Regions from separate parts of the Homo sapiens genome. Here all the other regions are linked to region 1. Evidence: promoter capture Hi-C in human tissues and cell types (Jung and others, 2019). All regions are on one chromosome and are shown on one strand. The core of a region is centred on a gene start or on the middle of the fragment in contact, and the rest is flanking DNA. Distances in the headings are between cores, read along the strand shown. Region 1 holds the start of ARL2 (ARF like GTPase 2). Region 2 holds the start of SCYL1 (SCY1 like pseudokinase 1). Region 3 has its middle 4.9 kb from the start of LINC02736. Region 4 holds the start of TIGD3 (tigger transposable element derived 3). Region 5 holds the start of DPF2 (double PHD fingers 2). Region 6 holds the start of CDC42EP2 (CDC42 effector protein 2).

Region 1 (2,875 bases), core at 275-2,774:
CTCCCAAAGTGCTAGGGTTACAGGTGTGTGCCACCGCACCCAGCCTCTATTACATATTTTACTTACTTCCTGTGTTATCATCTTTCTACCCGCGGGCAACCCCCCCGCCACACACACACACACGCATTACAGAATTTCCATGAAGGTAAGATTTTTTAGTTTTATTACCCTGGGCACTAGGACAGTGTCTAGCACATATTAGGCACTCAATATTTATCAAATGAGTGAACTGTATGCTTTTCTTAGAGCTCTTTAAAGCAGACATGCGGCCCGGCGCAGTGGCTCACGCCCATAATCCCAACAGTTTGGGAGGCCAAGGCGGGTGGATCACTTGAGGTCAGGAATTCGAGAACAGCCTGACCAACAAGGTGAAACCCCGTCTCTACTAACAATATTTAAAAAAATAGCCGGGCGTGGTGGCGGGCACCTGTAATCCCAGCTACTTGGGAGGCTGAGGCAGGAGAATTGCTTGAACTCGGGGGGCGGAGGTTGCAGCGAGCTGAGATTGTGCCACTGCACTCCAGCCTGGGCAACAAGAGCGAAACTCCGTCTCAAACAAAACAAAATAAAACAGACATGGGCCGGACTCCGTGGCTCATGCCTATATTCCCAGAGTTTTGGGAGGCTGAGGCAGGAGGATCACTTAAGCCTAGAAGCTGGAGGCTGCGGTGAGCCTTGATTGTGCCACTGCACTCCAGCCAGGGCAACAGAGCAAGACCCTGTCTCAAAAAACAAAACAGTCATGATGTGATTATTAAGTTATATGTGCACGTAAGCGTCTTATCTCCCCAGCCATTCCCCCGCGGAGCCTGGCACAGAGCTGGGGGAACAGGTGCGGGCGCCTAACTGGACTCAGAAGGCGCACAGGGCGCACGGGACACTCGGGCCCACACACACACATCCTCAGCCGCAGGGACAACCACGGGCCGCGTAACACCAAAGAGACGGACTGTTGGATCCACGCTCGAAAGGATCCGCGGAGCCCACACGCGCCACCCGCCACCCCGCACGCCCCCGGGATTCGGAGCTCGAGGGCGGGGCCGGGGCCTGGAACCCTCGGGCCCGGGGGAGGAGATCAGAGCCGGGAGGGCAGCGGCCCCACGCTTGGGCCAGGCCGCCGGGTGGTGGCGTCCGAGTTATCTCCGGGACCCACCACCCCTGACACTCGGGCCGCCTAGCCCCGCCGCTGCGCCTGCAGGACCGCTTCTGCGGCCCTCGGAGCTGGCCCCTGCCCCAGTCCTGGGGTGCGGCTCCTCCCGGCCCGACGGGGCGATTGATGGGGCCCGCGTGGTGACGCCAGGGGCAGTTGGGACGCGCCGGCCGCCGCGTTCCGCTCCCGACAGGGGGCGCCCGGCACCGCCTGCCCGGCTGGACCCCGCCACCCTCGCGGTTCCGGCGTCCGGTAGGATACAGCATGAGCAGTCGCAGCTCCCGCTCTTTCTGCTTCATCTTCTTCAGAATGGTCAGGAGCCCCATGGTCCCCGGAGCCCCCTCCCGGCCGCCGTTTCTTCCCAGTCCCGGGACCCCGCTCCCGGTTCCTGTTGGCTATCACGCTCGCCGACGGCATAGTCGATTGGCCGGACGCTCGTTTGGTCCCGCCCTTGCCGCACGTGACCGCGAGGTCGCCCGCGCAGCTGCTGCGAGGGTCCCTCTAGCGGCGCGGGGGGTTTCTGTGCTGCCGCCCGCCCTGACGCTGCGCCTCCCGAGGGCTGAGGCTGGGGGAGCAAGGGCGACTCCCCCACCCTTTCCCCTGCCGGACTGGGGCTCTTGGCCGGAGCGGAAACCTTGAAGTTCCTGAGTTGCATCTTGGCTGCGTCTGACCTGAGAGTCAGAACCCAGGGCCCCCAGGTACGGACGAACTCATCCTGGGGCCAGTGTAGGCCCCCGTTCCCAGCAACACAGTCCAAATCCTGCTCATCTGGGCCCTCGGCATCATCCTCTGACAGAGCGGAAAGTTGGGCCTCCCCCTACCCGGCTCCGGTGGCTCTCAGTTCAGGGCGGCGGTGCCCCCTGGAGGCCGTTCGGAAACATGCGGGGCGTCCCTGGGTTCCAATGACGGAATTGCAGTCCCGCCCCAAAGGCTGCCCCCACCCAGAGGCCCAGCGTTTCCCTGTTCAGAAGCACAGTTCCTACTTTTGCAGATGGAAAAACTGAGGCCCAGATGGTGCTTAGCACAGTGGCTGGCATGTAGTAGGTGCTCAATAAATATTTGTTGTTGAATGAATGGCTTTGTCCAAGAGTTTCATTCTTTACTTTAGCGCTCAAGAAGTCCAGAAGAAGTGAGGAAATAGGTCAAGGACCAAGCCCTTTTGTAAACTCAGGAGACAGCCTTATTGCTGCAGGTAAGTGTGGATAGGCAGCACGGAAGAGCCTCTCTCATGCTTGGGAAAGAGCTGTCAGCACCAGCTGAGGACAATAGCTAACTCCTGTGTAACTGTTTGCAACGCACTTCACGTGTTCAGCTTCATCCTCCCTGCAACCCTGAGAGGTTTATATTCTTTTCGTAGCTATGATAATGGAATCCAGAGTGTTTAAGGAGCATGGGTGAGATTCAAACTCAGGTCTAGTAAATGGTAAAGCACAATGTCTTCATGCCTCCATGAAGTTTGCCTAGAGAGAGGTCTGGAAGAAGCTGGAGCTTCCCATCTTGCAGAAAGGGGCTTGTGGTCAGAGGAGGGCTGAACAGATAGGCTGCCTGAGTGGGACCCTTCGGTCAGCACCATTTACCCTCCATCACACACACACAAGGAAGAAAGTGAGCATATCGCCTACCCAGAGGCTTCGAAATGCAGCTAAGATCAAAATGGGAAATGCTGGCCGGGCGCCATGGCTCACGCCTGTAAACCCAGCACTTTGGGAGGCCGAGGCAGGTGGA
Region 2 (2,875 bases), core at 1-2,500, 510 kb before region 1:
CTGCCACTGCTGTCAGCCAACTCCGGGGGGTCATACTGCTCAAGCTCGGGGATCCCCTTGCGGGGAGGTCCCCCACCGTTGCCCTGGGCCGAATACATGTAGTCCAGGCCCCCAAGCTTCCACTCGCCAGCTCGGTCCACGAACACGGCGGCCATGCAGACATTGTTGTGGATGAGGCTGCAGTCGTTGACCAGGAAGCTGAGGGCTTTCTGGGGGCAAAAGGAGCCATCACGCCCCAGCACCTGCAACCCCCCATCCCTGCTCTCATCACCACTGCCCCCCACCTCACCACGATCTGGTGTAGCCCCCAGGAGATCTCCAGCTCCTTCAGGCCACCAGCCTCCACTCTCGCCTTGAGGTATATTCCCAACGGGGTCACAGCCTCTGTCACGACGTGGAGGCATTTTTCTGTCTGGGGAAGGGGACACAGGGTTATCAAGGGCGGAGGGGCAGAGAGGAAGGAGAGATAAGCGACTTGAAGTTGGGAGAGATGGGGAAGAGGAAACCAAATCTGGGGGTGCTGGGGCACATAGGGTGGAAACAGGGCAGGAGGGGAGACAGGAGTGGGTAACCAGGACATCGTGAGGGGCAGAGACGGGCAGGCAAGGCAGCAGGTACCTCCAGTCCATCGATGTAAGCCAGGATGTTGGGGTGCCGTAGAGTTTTGAAGCGCTTGAAGGCAGCTTTGGCCACCTGGGTCTGCTCTTCCGCGCCAGGCTTCACATCATAGACGAAGATGGACACGGGGCTGCCTGTGGCCTAGGGGAGGGCAGCGGGGCCTGAGATGGTCCCAGAGCTGTTGTGTGGCCGGAAGACAAGGGCCCGCAGCCAGGTCTCTCCCCAGGTCAGCCTTAGGGACACTTCGCCGGGCCCACGTGACCCCGGCCCTGTCCGCCTGTCGGTCCCTCGGTCCCTCCGCCCGCCACGTAGGCACTGCCCGCCCCCTCCCCGGCCTGCTACCCCTTGGTTCCGCCGCCACGTCAGGCCGGGCGCAACGCGACGGGGTCGGCGGCGCGGAATAGGCAAGGCCCAGGTCGACCGCGGCCTACGGAGCTCGGCCGCACTCACCTTCTTGCGGCCGCGGTGCAGGGCCCAGGGCCCGGGCAGGCCGCCCTCTGGGGGCTCCGGGATGAGCTCGAACGGAAAGTCCCGGACCGGGTCCCGGGCAAAGAACCACATCGTCCCCACCGCCGCCGCGGGTTCGGGCGCCTTAGCTCCGGGTCCTCCGGCCGCCCGAGCCGGGGCGGGGCGGAGAGGGGGCGGGGCCTGCGTCAGACGGGGGCGGGGCCCGGGGGCCAGGGCGGGGCCTACGTCGGGGCGGAGCAGGACGTGAATTGGGGCGGGGTGGGGCAGAACCTGAGTTGGGGCGGGAAGGGGCGGGGACAAGGGAGGGGCGGGAGAGGGGCGGGGATGGGGGGGCTAGGGAGGGGCGGGGATGGGGGGGCTAGGGAGGGGCGGGGATGGGGGGGCTAGGGAGGGGCGGGGCAGTCCGGGGCGGCGGGCGGTACTAAGATCAGTACTCCGCCGCCGGGTAAGTCACTTAAAACCCTCCAAGCCTGTGAGCCCTTTTATCTAAAGAGGCCTAAATCCTAAAGGATAATAGAGCCTGCCTTCTAGCGTACTGTAAGGATGAGAGCTTAAGAAGGGACAGAGGGATGGGGAAACCGAGGCAAAAAGGGGGAGAGGTAGAAAGACTGACAGGCATGAGAGGGTGCAGTGAGGAGTGAGGCAGAGACCCAGAGAGGGAGACTGGCCCCACGCCAGACACTCTCTCCCACCAGCAAGTGGGTGCCTCCAGGCTCCGGGGAGGAGTCGGTCCTGGTGAAGTGACCATGAGAGAAGCACGAGGAGACGCCCCAGAGAAAGAGCGTGGGTGAGAGGCAGAGAGTGAATCCAAGGTTCCAAGGAGGTCCAGAACCCCGGGGCAGGGGCGGGCACCCAGGGAATGGAGGAAGGAGAGACTGAGGAGGGAAGAAGAAGTGACCCCAGGAAAGGAGGGAGGGAGAAGGAGCAACTGGGCAGGTCTGGAAGAGGCCAAAGGGCTGGGAGGGGACCCTGCTCTCCTGGGCTCAGCTGCCCGGCTCTCAAGCCAACGGATTGCATCTCTCAGTGCCTGTGTAGACAGCCATGGAGTGGTGTTAGCTCAATCAGCACATCACACTGGTGGGGATCCAGCCCCTGAGCTGTGTAGGAGGGGCTGGACAGGCAGTGGTTCTTCTGCTGGTAGGGTCTCAGGACCCAGGCTTGGGGACAGTGCCTCAACCACAGCTATGGAGCACTGGTGAGATTCTGGGACTGGTTATGAAAAGTCTGGTTGGGATGCCTTTGGGAGATAACTCAAGGGCAGAGATGCCACAGTGAGACGGTGCTGGGTTTCAATCACGGTTCAGCCCCTCATTGGATGTGAGAACTCACACAGTTCCCTTTGGGTGCGTTAGGTCCCCCATCTATAAACTGGGGTGAGGGCCAGGCACAGTGGTTCACGCTTGTAATCTCAGCACTTTGGGAGGCCGAGGCTGGAGGATCACCTGAGGTCAGGAGTTCCAGGTCAGCCTGACCAACATGTTTGAAGGGGGCCTGCCCCTCCACACCTGTGGGTATTTCTCGTCAGGTGGAGACAAGAGACTGAGAAAAGAAATAAGACACAAAGTATAGAGAAAGAACAGTGGGCCCAGGGGACCGGCACACTCAGTATACGAGGACCTGCACCGGCGCTGGTCTCTCAGTTCCCTCAGTATTTACTGATTACTATTTTCACTATCTCTGCAAGGGGACTGCGGCAGAACAGGGTGATGGTGGGAAGAAGGTCAGCAGGAAAACATGTGAGTAAAGGAATCTGCATCATAAATAAGTTCAAGGGAAGGTACTGTGCCCG
Region 3 (2,875 bases), core at 134-2,633, 480 kb before region 1:
GCCAACATGGTGAAACCCCATCTCTACTAAAAATACAAAAATTAGCTGGGGTGTGGTGGAGGGCACCTGTAGTCCCAGCTACTCGGGAGACTGAGGCAAGAGAATCGCTTGAACCCGAGAGGCAGAGGTTGCAGTGAGCTGAGATGGTGCCACTGCACTCCAGCCTGGCAACAGAGCAAGACTGTCTGAAAAAAAAAGAAAAAGGAAAGATCTTAGGCCTCCTGGCTGTACCTTCGAGAAGGCGGGGTGCTGAAAAGGACTAAAAGGGCAAAAATTTTGCATCCAGCCTCCAAGCATACAGTCAGCAAGGCCCTACCTTAATCCTCCTGACTCAGGCCAGGCCGGAAACCTCCAGAGAATGCCAGAATCCACTCCACCCCTTCCCTGATTGGCAAGTCCAGTCAGGCTTAGTCAAGAGACAAGCTTCTGAGAGATCCGTCATCTACGGCCCTGGAGCCCAGAGGCCGCAGTGGCTGAGTCTTCATGGCACCTGGATTCCTCCCAGGCCTCCTTTGATTTTATCTAATCCTGTAATTTTTTCTTTAATTCTGCATTTCTAGAGCTCTCTAGAAATGCAGGTCAGAAATGAAGGGCAAAGACAGTCCCAAGAAAACAACTTTCTTGGTTTTTGTTTTTTTTTTTTTCCTTGAGACAGTTTTTTGCTCTTGTCACCCAGGCTAGAGTGCAGTGACGGGATCTCAGCTTACTGTAACCTCTGCCTTCCGGGTTCAGGTGATTCTCCTGCTTCAGCCTCCCAAGTAGCTGGGATTGCAAGTGCCTGCCACCATGCCCGGCTAGTTTTCATATTTTTAGTAGAGACAGGGTTTTACCATGTTGGCTAGGCTGGTCTGAAACTCCTGACCTTAAGTGATCCGCCTGTCTCTGCCTCCAAAAGTGCTGGGATTACAGGCATGAACCACCACACCCAGCCCAAACTTTCTTGTTTTCTAAAGATTTTAGGAATTTGCAGTTCCCAATCCCATCCCCTGGCTGCCCACCTTCCCAGAGCCGATTTCTGGAACAATGTGACCTTCCGTAGCTGCTGCACAAACTTAGGCTCCCTCACCTACTGTGACCGCCCCCACAGCAGGAAAAAACCTACAGAGATGATGCAGCTCAGAGCTCTATGATATGGAAGACAGAGCATTGTTTTCTAGGGGGTTTTGGACAGCTAATAATTTACCCTGTAGAACATGTAAAATTATCCCTTGAAACCCAGCAGACAGGCCTGTCACTTCACAGAGAGCTGAGGGCAATTCCAGCAAGAATGAGTTACAGAAACTAGAAGTGGCTGTGTCATTGACCTTCCCAAAATGATATGCGGAAGAGGCAGCTGGGGCCTCTTCCATCACAGCCCTGAATCACCAGGGCAGGAGGGTAGGGGAAACAGATTCTCTCTTCCTGAGACAAGAAAACATCTTCTAAATGTACCCACCTCTACTTCTAGCAAGCATTCCTTGTTAGATAGAATCCTCTTTCGGGGAGGGGAATAAAGGAGAAAGTGTCTTTTTTGTTGTTGTTGTTCTTTCTTAGGAGAAAGTGTCTTAAGAAAGCAATTCCCCACCCCCTGCCTGAGAGTTCCAGGCTCCTAGTTCCTTCCTTGGTCTATTTGCTGCGTAATGTACTTGGCCCTGGGCCCTGAAGCCTATTGGTGGATCCTCCCGAAAGGCCTGGCTGTGGCAGCCCAGCTGTAGCACTGTGGGCTGTAGGAGGACAGATTGACATCGAGGGGCACAACTGGGCTGTCCCCCATGCCTTCCTGGGGGCTGCGTCTGTAGAACCGTCTATCCACTCCATGTGCATCTTTATTTTCTGTAACGTGTATTGAGTGCTGTGCCTCACAACAGCCCTGTGGGGGAGGTGGTGTTGCTTTCCCCTTAGACGGATGAGGAAACTGAGGCAAAGAGCTGTCATTTGCCAGATCACTAGAGCCTGGCACACAGTAGAAGCTCCATGTGTGTCTACTGAGTAATGACTCAATGAATACATTGGAATAGTATCTTTTTTGGAATTTATAACACACACACACACACACACACACACAACCAGAATACTGAAAAGCTCCCACAGGAACAGATCATTCCACAGGAACAGATCATTCCACAGGAACAGAACGGATTTAGACTTGACGTAAATTCGAATGCCCATCAGGATGGAGTGGAATGGGACTGAGCTAGCTGTACTGCGTGGGAAACTGGGAACTGCTTTGCTCTGGAGGTCTGTTCAGAACTTCTGAACCAACTGCCATCCACAGAGACAGGGGAGAAAACCCAGAGGCCACCTGTGGTTTCCATGCAGCTCTGATGGAGCATTCACCCCTCTACCTCCTACCCGCCCCCTGCCCAGTGCAGGGTAGTGAGCCCGGCTCAGCCCTTGCTGTCCTTGCCCCATGATGAGTCACCGCGGGAGACGCCTGCTGAGTGAACCTTCCCAAGTGGCCTGAAGGAACAATGAAGCTCTCAGGGAGTCGCAGCCGCGTTCTTGTGTCCCTGATCTTTTCAGTCATGCTTCAGGTCCCTGGCAGATGTTTGTATTGGCCTGGCACACCCAGCATGAAGCTGATTAAACATCCTCCATGAGCATGCTCACACACACACACACACACACACACGTATATTCATTCTTCCTCATGCAAGTGTGGCCCACATCCCACAGACACACATCTCCTGGGACAAGGGGGTAGCGGCCACAAGGTTTCAGGCACTTTGTCGGGGTGTGTTTCTCAACAATGCCGGATTAAAACAGAAGCCCGCAGAATGACAGGGCCTTCTCCTGAACTGGTAATAGTGGATCAGAGCCACCCAGTGTTTGAGTGGAATAAACCTCTAGGTAGCAAGTTCCCATTCCCACAGGTATCCTCTGGAAGCTGGGTGAC
Region 4 (2,875 bases), core at 275-2,774, 340 kb before region 1:
ATGTGAGCCCCGGGGGAGGTGGCTCAGGGGGGAATGAAGGCGCAAGAACATGGCGGGCCCCAAAGCCGACGTTGTTTCGGCGTTTCCAGCGGACCAGCCAGCCGATGCTGGGCACGAAGTCCTGGCCCATGATATCGGCCAGCTCCTTGGCTTTGTGGAGCAGCATGGGCCCCGTCACGTCCCAGGCCTTGGCCCGGGCAATGTGGTACCAGCAGAGCAGAGCCTCGTCGATCCCGCTGTACTTGGACTCCCGCTTGCGCTTGCGCTCTCGGTTGGCTGTGCCGCTGCACCAGTCCGCCAGCAGCTTCTCCTTATTCTTGCAGATGCGCGAGATCTGGGGCTGGGAAACCTGGAAGCGCCGGGCCACCTCCGACTGGGACATCTTGGACTCATCCAGGAGTTCCAGCACCTGGATCTTCTCGGCCAGGGACAGGGCGTGAAGCTTCTTCTTGCTGCTCAGCTCCATGGCCTCTCCGGGGCACCTGTGCGGGGAGGAAAGATTGAGCGGGTAGAGTAATCTGAGGCCGGAAGAGCTAGGAAAGGAGCGCAGGAGGGAAAAGAGATTAGATGAGGACTTGCGCAGGCACCGGGTGAGACTGGACCCGCTGAAAGAGGAAGTGGCTAGGCCGAGTGGAAGCCGGCTGGCCCCGTCCCCAGGATGCCAGGGCAGAGCTGGGGAGGGGGCGTCTCTCCACTCAGAAGGACAGGGGAGTCTGGGCTGGGGTCTGGCCTCACTCGGGAAGAAGGATGAAAAGTGCAGGGGACAGCTGCAGAGATAACAAAGGCATACGGACGGGGGAGGGCCTGGGACTGGGGCCGAGGGGGCAGGTGTGGGGCTACGGGGCTGCGGGGGAGGAGCCCCCGGGAGGGAGTGGGAGGCGGCTTGGGCTGGATTCAGATGACGCCGCTGGGGGGTGGGAGGTGGGTGGATGCACACAGAGTTGAGGTGACAGGTGTACAGACGACAAAGGGGACAGAGGGTGTCTGAAGGAGCGAGGCTAATTTGGTGCCGGGTCCTGAGAGGGAGGCTAGGCGACGGTCAGTCCTGAGGGGAGCGAGAGGGCAGGGCCGAGGGCGCAGGTGCACGAGCGACAAAGGGCGGGAGGCCTGAGGAGGCTGCGGGCAGCGGAGGGGCGGGGTGTCCCCGCGGGGAGGGTGGTGGCCTGGGAGGGTCCCAGGGCGCGGGAACGAACGCCCGGACCCAGGCAGGCCGGCAGCCGGACTCCGTGCCCTGGCCGGTCACTCCCCCTCGACCCGGAGTATGTCGGCGGGGCGGCCCCAGGCGCCCGCCCGCCCGGCCTCCCGCTCCGCACCCACCTCAGGCGCTGGTCCCGCGGCTCCAGCCCCTGCCCCCAGCCCGGCTCCCGAGCCCCTGTCCGGGCGGCGACAGCAGAACAGGGGAGGGATGGGCGCCACGACCCCGAGGGCAGAGCGGACCGAGGGCCTGCGCGGACGGCGGGCGGGCGGGCGCGCGCACAGCAGAGTCCCGTGCGCGCCGCCCGCGCCGGGCTCTCTCCCGGCTGCGAAGTCCGCGGTGCGGCCCCTCTGCACCCACCCGCCGCAGCCCCGCCCCGGCCCAAGCAGATTGGTCCTCAGTGGCGCCCCGTCCCTCCCCCGGCTAAGTTTCATTGGACGTTGCGGAAGTGGCGGTTCGTCGAGCCCCTCTGGGGGCGGGGCTTCTAGCGCGGAGGGGCGGGAGGCGGAGCCAGGAACCAGCAGGACTCCCCTGGGCGCCTCCAGCAGCCGCCGACCCCGAGGGCCCGACGAGCCCTGTAGGTGGTGTGGTGACCGCCGAGCTGACTTGGCGTCCCAAAGCCTCCCTGGCCGTGACCCTAGACCGCATCGGCTTCTTCGTCTACCAAGCAGGGCTAACAGCCCTCACGGAATTGTTTTGGGAAAACGATGAAAGGAGAAAATGGATGCAAGCTTTAAGCCACACAAAAGCTGGTTACCATGGACAGCGCTGGCTCGAGTCTGTCGGCCACGGAAACACTGCATGCTTGGGCCAGTAATGATTTAGGACGAGTATTTTATTAGATTTGGTACTTTACAAGATTCAAGTTCTTAAACTCAAGATCTGGCATCGTTCCCTTCCCTGCTAACCTTCAGTCCCGAATTAAACGCAGACGTCTTGACCCGCAGCCCAGCTGCTCTCCAGCCTCGCTGCTCCCTCCGCTCACAGCTCCGCATCCTCTGCCTTCCTCACAGGCTTCCGTCCGCACCCCCGTCCTACCGGCTGACACTGTCCAACTCTCCAAGACCCATCTCAAATCCTACCTCCCGCAAACCCTTCCTAAATTTCCTCACCTAGGCCTGCTACAGCGTTCTTATTTTCCACATTTCTTTTCTGGCTCTCGGACTACTCAGCTGCCAAAGCGCATCCATTGCTGTACTCCCTCTCTGCCTGGCCTACTTCAGTGGAAAAGCATGAGGACGGGCTGCGCTCTGCTCCTCACACAATCCCCAGCCCAGAGCACCCTGCTTATTTATTGAACATAACAGTGCAGGCCGGCCTAGGCTTCCCATAGGCAAGGATGACTTTCAGAATGTTCTAGAAAAAAGGATACTTCAGGGGGCCCATAACTGCTTGATTCAAATCTTTCCTTTAAAAACATAAAAACAACAGTTGGACTTCTAAAACACACACTGAAGACATACGCGCTGCCACGTAAGCTCTCCACATGTTCACTTTGCCTTCAGGGAAACTGTGTGCACATCAACGTGCCCTGGGAAAGGCTGCAGGGCTGCACTGCGGGCAGTTCAGATCCTAGAGCACTTGCTCTGGCCTGGGAGCGCTGCAGGCAACTGAAGCCACACAGACCCTGCTCCTGCAAGAACTTTTGTGTGTGTCCCATGGTGATGTCATTAGTTTGCT
Region 5 (2,875 bases), core at 185-2,684, 320 kb before region 1:
AAAGAAAGAACATCTGAGTCAGGAAGGATAACTGGATAAATGGTAGATCAACAGTGTCATTTCTAAATTGAGAAAAATGTCAGCCTGAAGAAAGAGCTGGGGAAACTGGAGTGGGCAGATCAGAGAGAAAGACAATAGCGTTGGGAGGAGGGGTGGCTGAAAGAGACAGCAGGATAGAGCAGAAAGCAACTTAAAAAAAAAAAAAACAAACCACAAGAGGAGGAAAGGCACTTAGCTTAATGGAAGTGGGAAAGCATTCTCAAAGAAAAGGCTTCAGGCAGGAGGGAGAAGCAACTTACTCTTTAAAAAGGCTCTTAGGAAGAGTGGGGCTCAGGCCACGACAAAGACAGATGAGAAGCTGTGAGTCCCTTAGAAGAGTTACCGAACCTTTACCTCGTCATCCAGTCAAAATGCAAAAACCCTGACTGGACAGCTAGACACCACTCAATTTTCCCACCCTTGCACCAAGCCCAACATACCCATTAAAAGAAGCTCTATTCGCCCACCATGCATTAACCCAATCTAAAACTCATTCTGATTCTTCTGTAGGAATAAATCAAGTCCCAAAGCATCTTTAACTCACAGGAAGCAGTTCATAGGCCAGCGTCCATGGCCCCAACAGCTATTAACTTTAACTTTGCTTGAAATCTGACCAGCACAATGGTATCGTATAATAGGAAGAATGCCCACCTAGATGCCCCTTTAGGCTAAGCTGTCCTGAACGGCTTCGGTCCAGTTGCAGGTTTTTGATGGCTGCTACTGGACGGGGCCAAGGCCCACTCCCCTGAAGTTCCTTCCCTTCTGGATCCGCTCCTCGATAAATTCTTCCCAAGAATATTTGTAGTCTTAGGTACCTGCCACCCAAGATCCTCCCAAACATCACGGGGCTGCCTGGAACTGAAACAGCCAGCCCCGCAGTGCACTCCGCAGGGGCCGCCGAGCCTGTTGCTGCAGCGAACGGGACGGGACGGGGCGGGGTGGGCGGCGGGCCAGCCGTAGGGCCGCCCGGGCCTCGGCCCCGCTCCTCCGGACTGAGGCGTCTCGGGAGAGGACCGGGACGGTGAGTCTCGCGTGCAGGCAGGGCGCCATGCTCTGGAAACCGTCAGCCCCGAGGAACGCTGAGGCCACACAGCCCCGCAGGGATGCCGCCCGTCGGGGCTCCAGTGTGCCCCCACCAGGGCCTCCACAAGTTTCCAAAGAAGCGCAACGTCTTCTCCGGAGTCTCCTGTTGCCCTCCCCACCAGGAGTCGCAACATGGCTTTCCCGGGGATGTCCCTCTCTCCGCCTAGTCCCTTCCCCCACCGCCCCCTACTCCCAGGCCCTTTACAAAACCTGCCGCCCTAGGAGAGAAAGAAACGACCACTCACAGCTTCACTACATTCTCCACCACAGCCGCCATCTTCCCTGTTCCTCTGCCTCGGGCCGAGAAGCCCCACAGTCCGCAGCGCGCAGGCGCCGGGACCGCACCGGGGTACCAGGTTCCTTGCCCTCTGCGCAGGCGCCGTCCGGGCGCGCGCACTAGAGCGAGCACTGAAGAAAGAGCTTTACGCCTGTTCGCGGGGGCCGGGTAGGAAATGCGTGGACCCCACGGGAGCCCGACGCGCAGGCGCAACCGGAGATTGGCATGCATCCCGGAGCTCCGGTTCGAGGCTTGCCTCTAATATTTAGAGGAGCAGGAGCCGGGGCCGGGCGCGGTGGCTCACGCCTGTAATCCCAGCACTTTGGGAGGCCGAGGCGGGCGGATCACGAGGTCAGGACATGGAGACCATCCTGGCTAACACGGTGAAACCCCGTCTCTACTAAAAATACAAAAAATTAGCCGGGTGTGGTGGCGAGCGCCTGTAGTCCCAGCTACTCGGGAGGCTGAGGCAGGAGAATGGCGTGAACCCGGGAGGCGGAGTTTGCAGTGAGCCGAGATCGCGCCACTGCACTCCAGCCTGGGCGACAGAGCGAGACTCCTTCTCAATAAATAAATAAATAAATAAAGGAAAAAAAGAAAAAGAAAAAAGATTAGCTGGGCATGGTGGTGCATGCCTGTAATCCCAGCTACTAGGGAGGCTGAGGTGGGAGGATCACTTGAGCCCAGGAGTTTGAGGCTCCAGTGAGCCACTGGAGCCACATCACTGCACTCCAGCCTGGGCAACAGAGCGAGGCTCCATCTCAAGAAAAAAAAAAAAAAAAAGGAAAAAAAATATATATACATATATATATACACATATATATATACACATATATACATATATATATATACACATATATATACATATGTATATATATACATATGTATATATATATATATATATATAAATATAATCACTAAAGCTGAAAATACACATACCCTATGACCCAGCAAAGTCCACTCCTGGATATACACACAAGAAAGCTGTACAAGAAGCTGAGTGCAATGCCTCATGCCTGTAATCCCAGCTACTTGAGAGGGTGAGGTGGGAGAATCACTTGAGCCCAGGGGTTCAAGACCAGCCTGGGCAACATAGCAAGATCCTGTCTCTTAAAAAAAAAAAACAAAAAAAAACAGGCCAGGAGCATTGGTTCACGCTTGTAATACCAGCACTTTGGGAGGCCACGGTGGGCGGATCACGAGGTCAGGAGATCGAGACCGTCCTGGCTAACATGGTGAAACCCCATCTCTACTAAAAATACAAAAACAAAATTAGCCGGGCATGGTGGCGGACGCCTGTAATCCCAGCTACTGGAGAGGCTGAGGTGGGAGAATGGCGTGAACCTGGGAGGCGGAGTTTGCAGTGAGCCAAGATCGCGCCACTGCACTCCAGCCTGGGTGACAGAGCGAGACTCCGTCTCAAAAAAAAAAAAATAAAGCTGTACAAGAATGTTCGTAACAACATTATTTGTTTAT
Region 6 (2,875 bases), core at 224-2,723, 300 kb before region 1:
TCCCTGCAGCAGTCGGGGAGCAGATAGGAGCATCCTAGCTCTCTGTGATTGCCCTGGACAGGAGCCCTGGACCTCCCAATGAGAAAATGACTTCCGGCAGGCAGGGATCCTCCTATCATGAAGAATATTAGGCCACCTCACACCCCCTCTTCTCCTAAATCAGGAGACTGTCCTTAAATCCAGCTCCACCTGGGACTTCCTCAGTAACCTTCAGCAAGACGCCTCTCCTCTCTGGGTCTCACCTTTCCCATCTATAAAATGGGCTGACAACGAAGCCACCACTAAAGGGCCACTGGAGATCCCACTGCAATATTGCAGGTGAGAGCGCCAATGTACAATAGCGGGGTTCAGCGGGTCACTGTAGGTTTTATCATTCATTCAGCAAATATCTACAAGGCCTTCCTTCCTCAAGCACTTCGATTCTCCGGGGCCAGTGCTTTGAACAATAGCAAAAACGAAGGGCTCCTGACCCCAGGCGTCCACCTCCTCCCGCCCTCCTAGACCTCGAGGATGCAGAGACCCTCTAGCGGCCGCTGGGTCTCCCGGGGTCCCGGTGCCTCCGGAGAGGTGCCCGGCTCCGCGGCCGCCAGGTGGCGCGCGTGCTCCCTTGATCGCCTCGTGTCCCGGAGGACTCCGAGAGCGCACCGGGGTCTCCAGCGCCCCTCCCCCGGGCTCCAGGCAGGCGGTCCCCAAGGAGCTGCGCGTTCAAGTACCAGATGGGGATTACCTGCGAGATCTTTTTGCTTCGGGGTTTCTGGTCCCACAATCGGGGAAAAAGGGGGCGATTGGGGACCCTGCCCTAGTCTCCAAGCTCTGGGAGGAGCCTCCCCCCTGTGCTTTCCGGCCTGGGCGATGTCCTAGTGTCCGCTCGGCACAGGGCCAGAGCTCGGGCGTGCGGGCCCCCGCCCCTCCCACGGGTCCGGCTCCTTAGCTCCGGCTCGGGTTCCTGCGCCGACCCCTCCCCACTCCTACCCGGGCGGAGCCCAGCCCAGCCCGGATCCGTTTCAGGACATTCGCGGCCGCAGCTAAAGATAGGAGAACAACTCACTATCGGCTAAAAATACGGCCCCCAGCCCCGGTGGGGATGCTGGGCGGCGGGGCACCCCTGGGTCTCGGGAGGGGGGCGGGGGCCCGGACACAAAATGGAGGGCAGAACGGGGAATTCGGGGTCGGGATGCGTTGCGCCCCCACGGACCGTGGCGGGCACGGGCGAGGCTGCGGGAACCCAGATGCGGGTGGGAAGCCCCATGGAGCCCTAGGAGCCCTCGAAAGGAACTGAGTGAGGTGAGAGGCAGAGCCAGGGCGCGAGCTGGGGCGGGGCGCCACAGAGATGGGCCTCTCGGGGGACCCCCGCGAAGCTGCGAAAATCCCAGCCCGAACTCACCGTGAGGCGCGCAGACGGCAGACCGGCGGACAGCAAGGTCTCAGGAGCTGGACAGCGCGGCGGCCGGACCCGACCGGCGGTGAACTTACAGAGTGCACCGCGGACCCCGCAGCCCCGCCCCGGCCCGCGGAGCCAATGCCGGGGCCGCGCCAGCCAAGCCCCTCCCCATCCCCGCCCAGGCCCCGCCCCACTCCGGGCACCGCCCGGGGCTCCCGGCGTGGGAGGTGCCGCTCCCGGGTCCAGCGGTCGCGCGCGCCCTGGAGTCCTGTCCTGGTTCTGGCGGCTGAGGGCCGGGTGGCGCAGGCGGCCTCCGGCTGTGCCCATGGGAACTAAAACCTTCGGTTCTAGAAGAGCCGGGGGAGAGGCTCCGGGAAGACCGAATTCTTCAGAAATCGCAGAGAGACCTTGGACCGGATCCTTCCCTGCAGGGCTGCGTCGGGGAAGCGCCGGCACAAGTATATTCAGCGACTTCCTTGGAAGCGCCTACGTTAGAATACTACAAACTTACAAGCTAGTTGATCAGTTTACCTCCCACTAGAAAAGACAGTATGGGAAGGCAGAGGCCGCGTGGCCTGGACCCCCGTCTTTGCTGTCAGGCTTCCAGAGTGAAGGTGGGGCTCATATTCAGACTAGTTCCTGGTCCATTCATTCTTTCAGTCAGTCAGTCAGTCATTCCTACAGGGCCAGAAACTTTTTTTTTTTTTGAGACAGAGTTTCGCTCTTGTTGCCCAGACTGCTCACCGCAACCTCCGTCTCCTGGGTTCAAGAGATTCTCCTGCCTCAGCCTCCCGAGTAGCTGGGATTACAGGCATGTGCCAGCACACCTGGCTAATTTTTGTATTCTTAGTAGAGACGGAGTTTCTCCATGTTGGCCAGGCTGGTCTCGAATTCCCGACCTCAAGTGATCTGCCCGCCTCGGCCTCCCGAAGTGCTGCAATTACAGGCGTGAGCCACCGCGCCCGGCCCAGAAACATGTTTTGAAGGGCAGGCACCGCACAGGGTGCTGGAGACAGACTGAAGGAAACTGCACCTCTCAGTGACTCAAGAGAGATTTGTTGAGTATCTACCAAGTGCCTAGCGCTGTTCTTGTCCCTGGGGATTCAGCCTCTGGATTGGGACCTGCAGCCCAGAGAAGGGAAATGGGGGAAATCCAAGTTCCCAGGTACATCATGATACCCTTCCAGGTGGGTAAGTGCTAAGAAGAGTGGGGCAGAGGAAGTGGTGGGTAGTGACGGGGTGGACAGACCTCACTTTCTAGAGGATGACAGCTATGCCAGCTCAGTGTGACCAGGATGGTTGGCTTCAATGCTGTCAGTGTGGGAAGGGCTTTTAGGGAGGCAGAGCCGGGAAGACCTCAGTGGGGGAGGCAGGATGCTGGGGGTGGGGGAAGATGCCAGACAAGCTGGGAGGTCCGGATGGGAAGAAGGGGATCATGGTAGGTAAAATAACAGCCCCCCTAAATATGTTCACATCTAGCCAGGTGCTGTGGCT

What was found. The method cuts DNA at HindIII sites, captures the fragments that hold promoters and counts their contacts. A contact is called where the count stands out against the background at its distance.
Region 2: a contact is called between the fragment with the promoter of SCYL1 here and the fragment with the promoter of ARL2 in region 1, in 1 of the 25 tissues and cell types used here (dorsolateral prefrontal cortex).
Region 3: a fragment that was not itself captured here is called in contact with the fragment with the promoter of ARL2 in region 1 in 1 of the 25 tissues and cell types used here (hippocampus).
Region 4: a contact is called between the fragment with the promoter of TIGD3 here and the fragment with the promoter of ARL2 in region 1, in 3 of the 25 tissues and cell types used here (dorsolateral prefrontal cortex, lymphoblastoid cells and spleen).
Region 5: the fragment with the promoter of DPF2 here is called in contact with the fragment with the promoter of ARL2 in region 1 in 1 of the 25 tissues and cell types used here (lymphoblastoid cells).
Region 6: a contact is called between the fragment with the promoter of CDC42EP2 here and the fragment with the promoter of ARL2 in region 1, in 1 of the 25 tissues and cell types used here (liver).

Annotation. Positions count from the first base shown.
Region 1 is chr11:65,012,809-65,015,683 of GRCh38, reverse strand. It overlaps ARL2 (ARF like GTPase 2), which reads right to left and starts at 1,524. Exons shown (of 5, transcript NM_001667.4): 1 at 1,412-1,524. The coding sequence starts at 1,476. ARL2-SNX15 (ARL2-SNX15 readthrough (NMD candidate)) reads right to left here and starts at 1,524. Exons shown (of 11, transcript NR_037650.2): 1 at 1,412-1,524. RefSeq lists a silencer at 918-1,677. The HindIII fragment of the contact is 13,144 bases long and covers 1-2,875 here.
Region 2 is chr11:65,523,458-65,526,332 of GRCh38, reverse strand. It overlaps SCYL1 (SCY1 like pseudokinase 1), which reads right to left and starts at 1,250. Exons shown (of 18, transcript NM_020680.4): 1 at 1,069-1,250; 2 at 619-759; 3 at 290-412; 4 at 1-209. The coding sequence starts at 1,179. RefSeq lists a silencer at 903-1,402. The HindIII fragment of the contact is 17,278 bases long and covers 1-2,875 here.
Region 3 is chr11:65,491,530-65,494,404 of GRCh38, reverse strand. No RefSeq gene overlaps it. Among named protein-coding and RNA genes, the nearest start is that of LINC02736, 4.9 kb to the right of the region's middle. RefSeq lists a cis regulatory region at 272-514, enhancers at 253-547, 793-922, 414-925, 926-1,436, 2,273-2,567 and silencers at 253-547, 2,242-2,743. The HindIII fragment of the contact is 5,007 bases long and covers 1-2,875 here.
Region 4 is chr11:65,353,400-65,356,274 of GRCh38, reverse strand. It overlaps TIGD3 (tigger transposable element derived 3), which reads right to left and starts at 1,524. Exons shown (of 2, transcript NM_145719.3): 1 at 1,318-1,524; 2 at 1-482. The coding sequence starts at 466. DPF2 (double PHD fingers 2) reads right to left here. Exons shown (of 11, transcript NM_006268.5): 11 at 2,013-2,875. RefSeq lists silencers at 817-1,006, 1,067-1,236, 1,247-1,306, 1,327-1,646, 1,737-1,796. The HindIII fragment of the contact is 4,951 bases long and covers 1-2,875 here.
Region 5 is chr11:65,332,411-65,335,285 of GRCh38, reverse strand. DPF2 (double PHD fingers 2) reads right to left here and starts at 1,434. Exons shown (of 11, transcript NM_006268.5): 1 at 1,368-1,434. The coding sequence starts at 1,399. RefSeq lists a silencer at 993-1,082 and an enhancer at 1,133-1,182. The HindIII fragment of the contact is 14,713 bases long and covers 1-2,875 here.
Region 6 is chr11:65,313,464-65,316,338 of GRCh38, reverse strand. It overlaps CDC42EP2 (CDC42 effector protein 2), which reads right to left and starts at 1,473. Exons shown (of 2, transcript NM_006779.4): 1 at 1,385-1,473. It overlaps LOC105369344 (a long non-coding RNA gene), which reads left to right and starts at 1,650. Exons shown (of 3, transcript XR_007062727.1): 1 at 1,650-2,568. RefSeq lists silencers at 516-675, 846-975, 1,436-1,815. The HindIII fragment of the contact is 18,736 bases long and covers 1-2,875 here.